Regions from separate parts of the Homo sapiens genome. Here regions 1, 3, 4 and 5 are each linked to region 2. The links are contacts of gene promoters, found by promoter capture Hi-C in human tissues and cell types (Jung and others, 2019). All regions are on one chromosome and are shown on one strand. Each heading gives the region's core, a stretch centred on a gene start or on the middle of the fragment in contact. The rest is flanking DNA. Distances are from core to core; before and after follow the strand shown.

Region 1 (2,700 bases), core at 183-2,682, 320 kb after region 2:
TGGAACATCTCAGCATTTTTTTGTTTTTGTTTTTGTTTTTGTTTTGAGACAAAGTCTCCAGTCCCCCAGGCTGGAGTGCAGTGGCGCAATCTCAGCTCACTGCAACCTCCACCTCCCAGGTTGAAGCGATTCTGCTGCCTCAGCCTCCTGAGTAGCTGGGATTACAGGCGCCTGCCACCACGCCCAGCTGATTTTTTGTATTTTTAGTAGAGACAGGGTTTCACCGTGTTGGCCAGGCTGGTCTCGAACTCCTGACCTCAGGTGATCCGCCCGTCTCGGCCCCCCAAAGTGCTGGGATTACAGGCGTGAGCCACCGTGCCCAGCCTTTCTCCAGGTGGGAGTGCAGTGGCATGATCTCAGCTCACTGAAGCCTCGACCTCCAGAACTCAAGTGATCCTCCCAAAGTAGCTGGGACTGCAGGTGCACACCACCACGCCCAGCTAATTTTTGGATTTTTTGTAGAAACGGTTTTGCCATGTTGCCCAGGCTGCTGATCTGGAACCTTTGGCTTTTGTTTTGTTTTGTTTTTGTTTTTTGAGACAGGGTCTCACTCTGTTGCCCAGGCTGGAGTGCAGTGGCACGATCTTGGCTCACTGCAACCTCTGCCTCCCGGGCTCAAGTGATTCTCCCGCCTCAGTCTCCCAAGTAGCTGGGGTTACAGGTGCACGCCACCACGCCTGGCTAATTTTTTTGTAATTTTTGTAGAGACGGGGTTTCACTGTGTTGCCCAGGCTGGTCTCGAGCTCCTGAGCTCAAGCGATCCACCCGCCCATGCCTCCCAGAGTGCTGGGATTACAGGCGTGAGCCACTGCACCCAGCCCTCTTAGCCATTTTGTTAACCTCATTTCCCACCTCTGGAGGTGGTAGGGGCTTCCCAAGAAGATCACTTGGACCTCTTCAAGTATGGTGGCAATATTGCTGGGCTGTTGGAGAGACTTCTGTTATAGAGGCTCCCCTCTTGTGTTTTTCCTCAAAGGCAAGGAGTCATTTTTGGTCACATGAGGACAAAGAGACCAGACCAGTAGTGCATTCTGTTTTGCATGGGAATTGTCAAGGCTCTTTCAGTTTTAACTGAAACCCAACTCAAACTGGCCTAAGTCAAAAACGAATTTATTCATCTATGTAACTGAAAAGAGTGGGCCACAAGGGGGAGGCTTCAGGCTAGCTGCATCTAGGTTTTAAATCATGTGAACAGATCTCCCTTTCCCCCTCCCCCATCTCTTGACTTTGCTGTCATCTGTTAGTTTCATTCTGAAGCAGGCTTCCACCGTGAAATAGAAGAGGTGGCAACTGGTGACATCATGAGACGATGTGTAATCTGAGCAACCCTAACCAAGAACTTATTTTCCTTAGTAGTTCCAGCAAAAATCCAGAGAGGACTATCCTTGGCCAGGCTTTACCCCATGTCCACTTCTGGAGCCAAGAAAGACAGTTCCTTCTCCAAGGGGAACCCAGGGTGTTGATACTAGAAGATGGAAATGGATACAGTAAGATGCTGCCACAGTGAGATGCCTCACCCAGGTCTCCCTCTGTCACTTCAGCCAAGCACATGGGATAGAAAGTAGCAGGCGGCCTCTGGCCCTTTAATGGAAGAGGGCCATCCAGTCCTCTCCAGTTAACATCTAGACCGAACACAAAGCATCCTTCTCTCATCCAGAAGACATAGGAACCCTACCTTCAGGGATGATTTTTTTTTAACAGTGAAATCTTAAAAGTAACTGTTTCACTAAAGCCTCCAGTATTTACTGAAGACTGTCAGAATCATCCTCCATCACTAGATCTTCTCCACCAGTCATGTTCCCTGAGCAGTGGGGTGGCTTGAAGGTATAAACCAGAGAGGCCCAAGGGAGGGATAGTTAGCAGACTTCTGGTCTTTTTCTAGTTTGTGCTCTTCTGTTCCAAGGACCACAGGTATGTCTTCTTCTGTGTAGTTGTTCACTATTGTTTCAATGTGATTCGTTTCCCACATTTGAAAATAGGGGGGGATTTTACTTTAAAATTCAGATATCTGGCTCCTCTTTAGGGGAAAAAAAAAAAAAAAAAAACCTAAGACGTAACAATACTGGACCCACATTCCTTCATGGTAGCAGTTGATAAGAGGTGGATAGTGACTTCTCCCTTTTGACCGGGTGTGGACTTTCCAACTCACCATAGTCCCAGTTGGCCTGCTTTGTTCAAAGCCTGGCCTTGTAAGCATCATGTTTGAGACCCTATTATGTCCGAAAGCTTTGCTTCTATCGTTTGGCCTGGGGGGAAAAGCTGGATTAATGTTTAGTCAGCAGCTTATTGGGTGGGTGGAGGGGGGGAACAGTGCTGTTGCTTAGGAAAAGTAACAACCCAGTAAAAGAATTTATGGGAAAGAGTGTGCACAACTTTGGTCTGTTTGTGGATTTGGTCGTTTTTTTGCTGTAAATGCTGTTGGTATATCAAACCTCCTGTCACAAATGTTCCCTCTGAAATAGTAACATGTCCTTCTATCTTATGAGTTGCCACCCAGTGAAGGAATCCCTCCCACTCCCGAGGGATGTTCATCCAGCCTCCGCTTGACCACTTCCAGCAGCCAGGGAGCTTATTACCTCCTCACATGGCAGCCAGTTCCATTCTTGGACAGATGCGTTATTTTAAAATTCTTCCTTATGTTGAAGCAGCTGCTGCCTCTTTGGGACTGAAAGCCACAAAATGCTGGAGCTGGGAAGGAAA
Region 2 (2,700 bases), core at 110-2,609:
GGATAGCAGGGGCATTCACCTGAATGAAGTCACGAAGCACGTCTGAGAAGGGGCCCCAGGCACGGTTGTCCTGTTTTCCTCCACCACCCAGCCGTCCCCACCGTGTTGCACCATCCACTTTCGGAGGCCTTCTGTGAAATAAAAAAGGCTTGTGCCCAAGTTCCAGTCGCCCGCCTGTTGGTTCCTAGTGAGACCCCGCCCCTAGCCCCTCCCACGTGCTCACAGTGCAGCTCACTCACCTGACCCTTCCCACCGAGGCCCCGCCCCCTTCCCCTCCCACCAGCTCAGGGCAAAGCCCCGCTCCTCTGGCCCTTCTCACTGATTTGCAGCAAAGCCCTGCCCCTCCAACCCCTCTCTCGGGCTCCCAGAACTGCCCCACTCCCACCCCTCCCACAGGCAAACGGTGAAGCCCTGCCCAGTCAGCCCTGCACCCTGCGTGCCAATGCTGCCTCGTCCCTCCGACACCTCCCACCGGCTCCCAATGCTGCCCCGCCCCTCCGGCACCTCACACCGGCTCCCAATGCTGCCCCGCCTCTCCGACTCCTCCCACCGGTCCCACTGCGGCCCTGCCCCTGCGGCCCCTAGTACCGGTCCCAGTGCGGCCCCGCCCCTCCGGCCCCGCTACCGCTCCCACTGTGGCCCAGCATCCTGGACTTCCTCTTCCGAGATCCCACCTTGGCCGCAGGGGTTGCGAATAAGGTTGCGTCCGATGGGTCTGCGCGCGCAGAAGCGGCCCAGGGGGCAAGGCCTGGCGTTACGGGCGGGAGACTGGCAGCTGCGGGCGAGGTGCAGCAGCGCGCGGCCGGTGGCGCCGTGGTCGCGGGCCAGGATCAGCAGCCACAGGGCCTGGCCGTCCACCAGGGCTCGCCAGCCCCGGCACACTTGGCGGCAGCGCCCGAGCAGCGTGCGCGGGGGGACGTGGCTCAGCACCACCAGAAGCAGCTCTGGGGGTAGTTGGCTCAGGTCCAGCGCCTCTTCGGGTTCCGGCTCCGGCGCGGGGACCCGGGCGGCCCGGCCCCTGGAGACCGAGGCGCCCATGGTCCCCCCGCCAGGCCCGGCTGTGGCTGCGGGAGAGGAAGGGTCAAGGCGTCAGGGACCAGCAGCCTCCGCGGCGCGCAGCCTCTGCCTGCCCTGATTCTGCCAGCCGCACCCCCGTCTTCACCATCCCTGGGCCCCGTCCCCAAGTCCCCATCCCCCAGCCCGTCCTTGATAGCCCCGATATCCCGGAGACCCCGCGGTCTGTGTGTATGCCCCGAATTGCATGCAATCAGCCCCCCTCGGCGGCCGCACCGACACCGCACCCCAAGTCCTACCCCGGGGCCTGGCGGCGCTCCTCGCCGGGATGCCCTAGCTGTGCCGCAAGCTCCCCACGCCCCTCTGCGTCCTTTTTACTCGCCGGCCCCTCCCCTCTTACTAGCCAGCTTCACCCACCCCTGCATCCTCTTTCTTACTCGCCAGCCCCTCCCGCCTGCTCCCTCCCGCTCTCCAAACCCAACCTGCTTCCCGCGACGGGGCCAGGTGCAGCCAGGAGCCAAGGCCTGCTGCTCACAGCCGTCCCCTCCAGCCGGCCCCTTGAAGTGTCCCTAATTCGTTAGTAGCAATGAGACGTCTGGCTCTGAGCAACCATTGTTATTTTGGTCAGGCTTCTGAGTGGGAGGCCTCGTATCCGTTAACGTGTTAAAAAATTTCCATCACCTTTAAGGTCGGGCGTGGTTATCTTCATTTCACAGGAGAAAACAGGCTCCGGCTGCTAAAAATTAATGCAACCAATAGTAACACCAGCCAACTTTTATGGACGGTTTTACTGCCAGCCAGGGTGGCAACCCCATGAAGTAGGTGCTGTTATGCCCTTTACTTCACAGGTGAAAAAACTGAGACCAGCAGAGGCCAAGTGGCTTGTCTATGATCACCAGCTAGTAGGGATTTGAATCCAGCCAGCCTAGCTCCGGAATTCCTCATTTTAACCTCTAGATCAGCTCTGTCCAATAAAAATACAATTGTGGCTGGGTGCGGTGACTCATGCCCGTAATCCCAGCACTTTGGGAGGCCAAGGCAGGCGGATCGCTTGAGGTCAGAAGTTCGAGACCAGCCTGGCCAACATGGTGAAACCCCGTCTCTACTAAAAATACAAAAATTAGCTGGGCGTGGTAGCACGCGCCTGTAATCCCAGCTAATTTGGAGGCTTAGGCAGGAGAATTGCTTGAATCCGGGAGGGGGAGGTTGCAGTGAGCAGAGATTGCACCACTGCACTCCAGCCTGTGCAAAAGAGTGAGTGAGACTCCGTCTCAAAAAACAAACAGAAAAAAAAAATTGTGAAAGTTGATCATGTGAATTGGATCCTTCTTGTCATATCCAACTAAAACAAAGTTGAGAGGCCGGGGGGAAAACACTTAGGGCAGATACCATTGCTCCAAGAAAGTGATTCTCTGCAAGCCTGGCTGTTAAAACTGCCTGTTGTAACCTGGAAGCAGTCTAACTGGTACTGAAAAAACCTGCCGTGACTCTAAGACTAGTTTTTCCCTCTGCTGTCACTTACCAGTCAGAACTTGCCAGCTCCCCAGAACGTTGCTAGTGTCAATGAACTTTCTTGCAAAACAATACCTAACATTTCTGTTTCTTATAAAAACCTCTAACCTCTTTGTTCTTTGAAAGTTCTGAAGACCGCCTGGTCTGTGTGGATGCCTCGAATGTCAATTCTTG
Region 3 (2,700 bases), core at 175-2,674, 350 kb after region 2:
GGAAGCTGAGGCAAGTAGATCGGTTTGAGACCAGTCTGGACAACATGGCGAAACCCCATCTGTACAAAAAAATACAGAAATTATCTGGGCATGGTGGCACACACCCGTAGTCCCAGCTACTCGGGAGGGTGAGGCAGGAGGATCGCTTGAGCCCAGGAGGTCAAGGCTGTAGTGAGCAGAGATTGTGCCACTGCACTGCAGCCAGGGCGACAGTGAGACCCCATCTCAAAAAGATGTTGGGACAAGTGGGCAAAAGGAAGATTAGAGACTTGCTAACCGCAGGTCCCTGCCCTGCTCAACAAGTGAGGGGTTGACTCCTCCACACGGTGCTGGCCACTGGGGCTGCAGAGACAGATAAGGCTCGTCTGGAATGGGCTGACTCTAGAGAGAGCATGGATTTGCAGAATTCATGTCATAAACTGCCAAGTCAGTCAGGAGTCTTACTTGATGAGGTTGTGTAGACAGCCATCTGTTGAGGCCGTGGGAACCCATCCATCATGTTCATCCTAGCACAGGGCTTGACACACAGTAGGCATCTGTAAATGATGTTAAACAAGCAGGTGGATGAACCGCAGGAATGAACAAGAACCATTCTCTTTACCAGCATGCTGTGTCCCAGGCTTTGTCAGACAGCTCTCCTGCACTGATTGACTCCTCCCAACTGTATGTGTAAGGACGCTGATGTTATTCATCAGTCAGCAATCTGAGACAGGTCTTGCCCAAGTTCAAAAAAAAAATTCTTTTTTTTAAGGAGAGACAATTGGGTGATCTGATACGACATGAGCTCAGGGTTCAGAGGGAACAGTGATGAGAGATGAGGGTGGAGATGGGAGCTGGGTCGTCTAAATCCAGGTAAACAGCTCGGACTTTGTCCTGATGGCAGTGAGGAGTCAGGGAAGGGTTTAAGCAGTGTAGTGAGGGAGGTCAGGTCTGCCCAGGGAGGTGGGTGGTTTCCCAGATGCCCGAATAGGAGGCCCTTTTGAGAAGTGTGGTTTGAGGACAAGTCCCATGGTGGTTGTCCTACTTTGCCCCCACCTGCCTGGCCTGCCTGGATTGAATCCTGCCCAGAGGAGCAGGTCCAAGTGGGGACAGGAAGGGTTTTGATTTAGCTTTTGCACCAAGTACAGAGCAGGTCTTCAATCAGGGAGCCTTGGGGGCTGCCCAGTGTCCAGGGCAGATGCCCAGACTGTGCTCAAGACAGTATGCAGTCTGTGTCCAGAGTAGTCACAGCAGGCTGTGTGTGGCCTCCAGGAGCTCCTTCAGTTTCAATTCCACTCTCTGCAAGTCGGGCTTTTTCTGTATTGCCAAGCCTCTGCCATTGCCATTGTCTCCTCTGCCTGTTGTGTGACACGCTCGCCTCTCTCCCTGTCCACCTCCTCCCGTTCTTCCCTCTCCCCCTCCATCTCTCTTGCTCCCTTCCCATACCAGCATCCTTTGTCATCCCAGCTGTCTTCACCTGAGTCCAGTTGGTCCTTACCACCCCCATTCTCCTCTCTCCCACCCAGACTGCCCGGTTCCTGGGCCTGACCTGGAGATCAATCCCACTCTGGAGTCTCTGTGTCTGAGCATGACAGAACACGCCTTGGGTGGTGAGCATTTCCTCTTTCCCTGACCCAGCTCCCACCTACCCAGCGTCTCTGCCTCTGAACTGAGCAACTCAGAGTCATCCTGAGGGGTCCCCAGGGGAGGCCAGACTCCAGGGAGGGCCTGACTGGGATGACAGGCTACCTGAGTGCCTTTTCTTGGGCCTCCCTCCAGCTCCTGATCTTCCTCCCTTCCTCCCTTTCTTACCACAGATGGGACAGACAAAACCTCCACCATCTGACGGGACCCACAGCCCAGCGCACCCATAGGCTCCCTGGGCGGCGGGCGGGGGCCAACCCCCAACGGGCTTCTCCGCGACAGCGAGAGGGTGGGCTGGCTCAGCTATATATTCTAATATTTTTCTACTCTCTTACCCTCTTAACTTTTGTTTAACATTGGCACATGCCTTGCTCACTCCCAGGCCCGTCGAGGGATCTCTGCTGAGGCCCGGGGAGTTGGGGGCAGCCAGGATAAAGGGGGCAGGGACTGGCCAGACTGCCTGCCTCTCTCCTTTCCTTCCTCATCCCCACCTGGTCCCATCCCACCCCTGCCTCCTCCAGACCGCTGACCACCTGCCTCTCCCCAAGGGAGCAGACTCCCCAGAGACAAACTGACCACTACCTTGTGGAGCCTGCTCAGAAACATTTGACATTTGGGGTGACGCGCAGGGCAGAGAACCTGCCCTCCAGAATGTTATTGAGAGGAGCTGGGGAGAAGGAAGGGGAGCAAGGAGAGGAAGCTCTCTCTCCTCTCCCTGCTTCCCCTTCACCATTCCCCACATTCTGCAAGGACAGGAGCCACCTTCCTCTCTCTCACCTCCCCTGGCCCTGTTCACCAGAGGTTCTCTATGATTAATTTCTTAGGCCTATTTAAGATACATATTTATATAGTTCTTAACGGTTTTTCTCTGATCATTTCCTCTCATTTTTAGAATCCCCAGGTCTCTCTCAGCCAAGACAGTGGCAGGGAGAGCCTGAACTTTATGAGGGGAGAGGGCAGAGCCCCCTCCTCCAGACCCTCAAGCTCTAACCCATTTTCCTCCAGCCCTGGCTACCCGGATGAAGAGGTTGGAGGTGGGCAGCCAGGGTAGCCAGTGAGGTCAGGAAGTCTGTTGCC
Region 4 (2,700 bases), core at 70-2,569, 380 kb before region 2:
ACTGCAGACTGGAACTCCTGGGCTCAAGTGATGTCCCTTCCTCAGCCTCCTGAGTAGCTGGGACTACAGGTGCACACAGCCATGCCCAGTGAATTTTTACATTTCTTGTAGAGACAGGTTCTTGTTATGTTGCCTAGGCTGGCCTTGAACTCTTGGGCTCAAGCCATCCTCCCGCCTCAGCTTCCCAAAGTGCTGGGATTACAGGTGTGAGCCCCTGTGCCTGTCTACATATTTTTTAAAATTTTGAGTGTTGAGGCCAGGCGCAGTGGCTCATGCCTGTAAGCCCAGCACTTTGGGAGGCCGAGGTGGGCGGATCACCTGAGGTCGGGAGTTTGAGACCAGCCTGACCAACATGGAGAAACCCCGTCTCTACTAAAAATACAAAATTAGCCAGGAGTGGTGGCACATGCCTGTGATCCCAGCTACTCGGGAGGCTGAGGCAGGAGAATAGCTTGAACCTGGGAGGCGGAGGTTGCAGTGAGCCCAGATCACGCCATTGCACTCCAGCCTGGGCAACAAGAGCGAAACTCCGTCTCAAAAAAAAAAATTTGTGTGTTGGTTGGGCGCGGTGGCTCACGCCTGTAATTCCAGCACTTTGGGAGGCTGAGGCGGGAGGATCGCTTGAGCTCAAGAGTTCAAGACCAGCCTGGCCAACATGGTGAAACCCCGTCTCTACTAAAAAAATACAAAAATTAGCCGGGTGTGGTGGAGCATGCCTGTGTTCCCAGCTACTCGGGAGGCTGAGGCAGGAGAATTGCTTGAATCCGGGAGGCGGAGGTTGCAGTGAGCCGAGATCGCGCCACTGCACTCCAGCCTGGGAGACAGAGCGAGACTCCGTCTCAAAAAATAATAAAAATAAAAGTAGATTTGTGTGTATGTGGCTTCCTTTACTAGAAGGTAGTTTCATGAAAGTTGGGATTTTTTTCTGTTTTTAGTGCCTGCGTAAAACATAGTCTGGCACAGAATAGGTGTTCAATAAATATTTGTTGAATTTGTGTCGCTGAATGGGAACCCGGTGCAGTGCATTCCAAGCCTGAGCTGGTTCAGGTCCGATGGCGGGGCCTGCCCTTATGAATCATTCATGATCTGGCCCCGCCCATACGCGAACGACGCGCGCGTTCACGCCGGAGAGGGGGCGCGGCTCGCCCCCGGGCTGAGTCGGGCGGCCAGGAAGCGGGACTCTGCGCAGGCGCCAAGCTCCGGAGCGCGGCCTTGGTGCCTTTTCTGGTTTGGCAGGCGCGCGCGCGCGGGAGGGCGGCAACCTCGGCGCTGTGCGCAGGCGCGGCGGGCAGTGCGCAGGCGCGGGCGGAGGGCGGGCTGAAGCAGCTGAAGCGGCGGTAGCGGCGGCGGCTCGGGCAGAGGGGCGGGAGCTGAGGCGGGAGCGGACAGGCTGGTGGGCGAGCGAGAGGCGGCGGAATGGTGGACTACCACGCGGCGAACCAGTCGTACCAGTACGGCCCCAGCAGCGCGGGCAATGGCGCTGGCGGCGGGGGCAGCATGGGCGACTACATGGCCCAGGAGGACGACTGGGACCGGGACCTGCTGCTGGACCCGGCCTGGGAGAAGCAGCAGCGCAAGGTGCGCGGCCCGCGGGCCGGACGGGCTGGAGGGGCTTTTCTGAGGGGGCCCGGGGAGGGGTGGGAGGTCCTGAAAGGTAACTGGAGCGTCTGTGATGGGAACGGGGGGGTCCCGAGAAGGAATTGGCGGGTCCGGGAAGGGAATTGGAGTCCTGAGGAGGAATCGCCGAGCTAGAGGAAGGAATTGGGAATCTGAAAAGAGAATTGGCGGCTGGGTGGGGAATATGGGAGTCAAATAAAAGGAATCGGGAAGGCTGATGAAGGATTTGGAGGGTCTGGGCGTGCCATTAGGGGAAACCGAGGAGATGACTGGGCAGGCTGAAATGGAACTGGGATCCGAGGCGGGCTTGAAGGGTCGGAGCATGGGTTGGGGGTGCTGGGAGGAGAATCAGGGGAGGCTGAGAAGGGAATTTCTGGGTCTGGGAAGTGTGAGGAGGAGCTTGAGTGTGGAGGGGTTGGTTATTTGGAGAGCAGAAAGATCTGAAGGAGATTGGAATTGGGGGAGCCTCAGGTTGGGGGAGTTATAAAGGGGATGAAGAATCAAGTGTGAGGATGGAGTGGAGATTGTGGGGTCTGAAGACGGGTGGGAAGACTAGGGAGGCTGGGAAGATGAAAACAGGGGCTAAGGGTAGAATTGAGCATGAAAAGACATGGGCTTAGGGTGTGAGGAGGGTAGAGGTGCCAGGACTGGGGGTCTGAGGAGGGTGGGGTGCGGAAGGAAGAAGTTAAGGGGCCCGTGAATCAGACGTTTTTGAAGGGGGTGAGATTTATTTGTGGTGCCCTGTTCCAAAGGGGAGAAGATTAAGAGATAGGAGGAATAATAAGAGGAATTGATGAGGGATGGAGAAGCCGAAGTAGAGGGGATACGGAGAGTGGGGATAATTTGGGGAGGGATTTCTAAAGAATTGATGGGAAGCTGAAAAGCTAAAGCGTTGGAGAGAATGAGGAAGTGTAGAGGGAGAAGGTGAGATCGGTGGGAGGGAGGGTGAGCTGGAATGGTGGATAATGGGAGAGAGGTTCGTTTAGGAAAATGAAAGTCTCATTAGAAAGGGAATGCGTAATGGATAGACTGAGAAAGGAATTTGAGGAGGGGGTGCTGGCTCCTGGAGGTGCAGTCCCGGGA
Region 5 (2,700 bases), core at 52-2,551, 450 kb before region 2:
GGGTCTCACAATGTTGGCCAGGCTTGTCTCGAACTCCTGACCTCAAATGATCCACCCACCTCGGCCTCCCAAAGTGCTGGGATTACAGATGTGAGCAACTGCACCCGGCCTTATTTGAGCTTTTCAAACTATTATTATTGGAAAGGTACTCAGGGAGCGTGCCCCTGCCACTTATGAGCCGTGTGATTTTGGGGCAGGCTACTCAACCTCCTCCCTATGCCCTGGGGGCCTCACCTGTAAAATGAGTGTGTAATAGTAGTTGCTTTTAGGACTAATAGGTGCTCCCTGGCTATCGAAGACTTAAAAGACTTAGACCATTGCCTTGCACGGTGGCTCATGCCTGTAATCCCAGCACTTTGGGGGGCTGAGGGGGGCAGATTACCTGAGGTTGGGAGTTTGAGACCGGCCTGACCAACATGGAGAAACCCCATATCTACTAAAAATACAAAATTAGCTGGGCATGGTGGCGCATGCCTGTAATCCCAGCTACTCGGGAGGCTGAGACAGGAGAATCACTTGAACCCGGGAGGTGGAGGTTGCCATGAGCCGAGATTGCGCCACTGCACTCCAGCCTAGGCAACGAGAGTGAAACTCCGTCTCAAAAAAAAGGAAAAAAAAAAAGACTTAGACTAGTGCCTGGCACATCCTCAGGATTATATAGATGTTAGCTTCTATCATCATTATCCACAATTAAAAGTTTCACCCAGGCCGGGCGCAGTGACTCACGCCTGTAATCCCAACACTGTGGGAGGCTGAGGCAAGAGGATTGCTTGAGCTTAGGAGTTTGAGGTTGCAGTGTGCTATGACTGCGCCACTGCACTCCAGCCTGGGTAACACATTGAGACTCTGTGTCAAGTTTAAAAAAAAGTTTCACCCAAGGTATACCCAGCGTTCAATGCACATTTATATTTTCTCTTCTATTCTAATAATGGTGATCATAACCCAAATTGATGCGAACTTACTAGAGACACAGGCCACAATCCACAATTAAAAGAATCATTTCTGGGGTTTATCTCCAAAGATGTCCTGCAGTCTGGCTCCGTGGGTTCCTCCCTGCTCTCAGGACAAAGTCCAGCTCCTCAACCTGACATCTGAGGCTCTTCCAGACACGGCCTCGCTGCCCACAGCCTCGTTCTCATTATAGTCACTTATCTTAGTTTTTACTCTAGGATGACTGTGTTCTCTCACATCCTGGGGACACGGAAAGAACAAGTGTATGCCGGGCGCTGTGGCTCACGCTTTTAATCCCAGCATTTTGGGAGGCCAAGGCAGGTGGATCATCTGAGGTCAAGAGTTTGAGACCAGTCTGGCCAACGTGGTGAAACCCTGTCTCCACTAAAAATACAAAAATTAGTGGGATGTGGTGGTGGGCGCCTATAATCCCAGCTACCTGGGAGGCTGAGGCAGGAGAATCTCTTGAACCCCGGAGGCGGAGGTTGCAGTGAGCCGAGATCACGCCATTGCACTCCAGCCTGGGCAACAAGAGCAAAACTCCATCTCAAAAAAAAAAAAAAAAGAAAAAAGTACAAAAATTAGCTGGGTGGGGTGACACGCACCTGTATTCCCGACTACTCAGGAGGCTGAGGCAGGAGAATCTCTTGAACTCGGTGGTGGAGGTCGCAGTGAGCCAATATTGCACCACAGCACTCCAGCCTGGGCAACAGAGCAAGACTCTGTCTCAAAAAAAAAAAAAAACATATGTAAAGTTGTTCCCAAATGCCAGGTAGACCATGCTCCCTCCCCACCCCCACTCAGACCCTTCTTGTGGCTCCCCAGCCCACTGTAGATAAAGTCGAATCACCCTGCCGTGGCTTACAAAGCCTGGGAAGGGCTGGCCCTGCCTGGGTCTAACCGCAAACCCTCTTGCTTTTTGCTTTCTAGCCGCCTGGTCCTCTTTCAGTTCCCCTAGGACTGTGTGTTTTCTCCCAATTCAAGCCCTTTGCACCTGATGTTCTCTCTGTCCCCTACCCCAGGCCTGACATACACACACACCCCATTCACTTGATACCTCACCTTTCCACTTAAATGCCACATCCTACAGGAAGCCCCTTGACCGCGGGCTGGGCCAGGGCCCACAGAGCCACATGCCCAGGCCCTGCCTCATCTCTCCCTGCTCTCCTGCACAGGAGCTCTATTTTCCAGCCTCACCCAACCATTTTCAGTTCCTCACAGCAGCAGGATGTACTCTTTCCTCACTGATGGCGAGGCAGCATGTGGCCTTCTCTGCTGGGAACACTCTCCCACCACCCCTCCACCTAAGGCCTCCTTTAGGTTTCAGCTCACACCTGCCTCCTCTTCCAGGAAGCCTCACCTGATCACCTAGGCTGGATCAGATGCCTCCAGCGGGCTGTTAAAGCTTCCAGTGCTTCCCCTAGCTCATCCCTGGTCACACTGTGCCTCCCCACCCCAGCCTCGACCCTCTGCCTGTGCCCCTCCCATCCTCGCCCTCACCCTTCTGCCTGTGCCCCCCTATCCTGGCCCTGATCCCTACACCTGTGCCCCCCCCCACCCATCCCGGCCCTCATCCCTCCGTCTGTGCCCCCCATCCATCCCGGCCCTGACCCCTCTGCCTGTGCCCCACTATCCTGGCCCTAACCTCTCAGCCTGTACCCTCCATCCTGGCCCTGACCCCTCTGCCTGTGCCCCCCACCCAACCTGGCCCTGACCCTTCTGCCTGTACCCCCCATTCCAGCCCTGACC

What was found. The method cuts DNA at HindIII sites, captures the fragments that hold promoters and counts their contacts. A contact is called where the count stands out against the background at its distance.
Region 1: a fragment that was not itself captured here is called in contact with the fragment with the promoter of FBXO27 in region 2 in 3 of the 25 tissues and cell types used here (aorta, dorsolateral prefrontal cortex and heart left ventricle).
Region 3: a contact is called between a fragment that was not itself captured here and the fragment with the promoter of FBXO27 in region 2, in 1 of the 25 tissues and cell types used here (psoas muscle).
Region 4: the fragment with the promoter of ACTN4 here is called in contact with the fragment with the promoter of FBXO27 in region 2 in 1 of the 25 tissues and cell types used here (dorsolateral prefrontal cortex).
Region 5: a contact is called between a fragment that was not itself captured here and the fragment with the promoter of FBXO27 in region 2, in 1 of the 25 tissues and cell types used here (pancreas).

The regions. Positions count from the first base shown.
Region 1 is chr19:39,350,464-39,353,163 of GRCh38, forward strand. The region is part of intron 1 of SAMD4B (sterile alpha motif domain containing 4B); the gene reads left to right. Among named protein-coding and RNA genes, the nearest start is that of SAMD4B, 9.4 kb to the left of the region's middle. The HindIII fragment of the contact is 6,332 bases long and covers 1-2,700 here.
Region 2 is chr19:39,031,190-39,033,889 of GRCh38, forward strand. It overlaps FBXO27 (F-box protein 27), which reads right to left and starts at 1,360. Exons shown (of 6, transcript NM_178820.5): 1 at 1,314-1,360; 2 at 675-1,064; 3 at 20-131. The coding sequence starts at 1,038. RefSeq lists enhancers at 1-48, 455-1,247 and silencers at 157-339, 189-428, 579-658, 859-1,008, 1,069-1,138. The HindIII fragment of the contact is 13,585 bases long and covers 1-2,700 here.
Region 3 is chr19:39,381,703-39,384,402 of GRCh38, forward strand. SAMD4B (sterile alpha motif domain containing 4B) reads left to right here. Exons shown (of 14, transcript NM_001384574.2): 13 at 1,506-1,589; 14 at 1,797-2,700. The coding sequence ends at 1,825. Among named protein-coding and RNA genes, the nearest start is that of PAF1, 8.1 kb to the right of the region's middle. The HindIII fragment of the contact is 9,011 bases long and covers 1-2,700 here.
Region 4 is chr19:38,646,330-38,649,029 of GRCh38, forward strand. ACTN4 (actinin alpha 4) reads left to right here and starts at 1,320. Exons shown (of 21, transcript NM_004924.6): 1 at 1,320-1,578. The coding sequence starts at 1,417. RefSeq lists silencers at 1,160-1,349, 1,580-1,659. The HindIII fragment of the contact is 19,413 bases long and covers 1-2,700 here.
Region 5 is chr19:38,581,798-38,584,497 of GRCh38, forward strand. All of the region lies in intron 101 of RYR1 (ryanodine receptor 1), which reads left to right. Among named protein-coding and RNA genes, the nearest start is that of MAP4K1-AS1, 13 kb to the right of the region's middle. RefSeq lists an enhancer at 2,112-2,361. The HindIII fragment of the contact is 5,920 bases long and covers 1-2,700 here.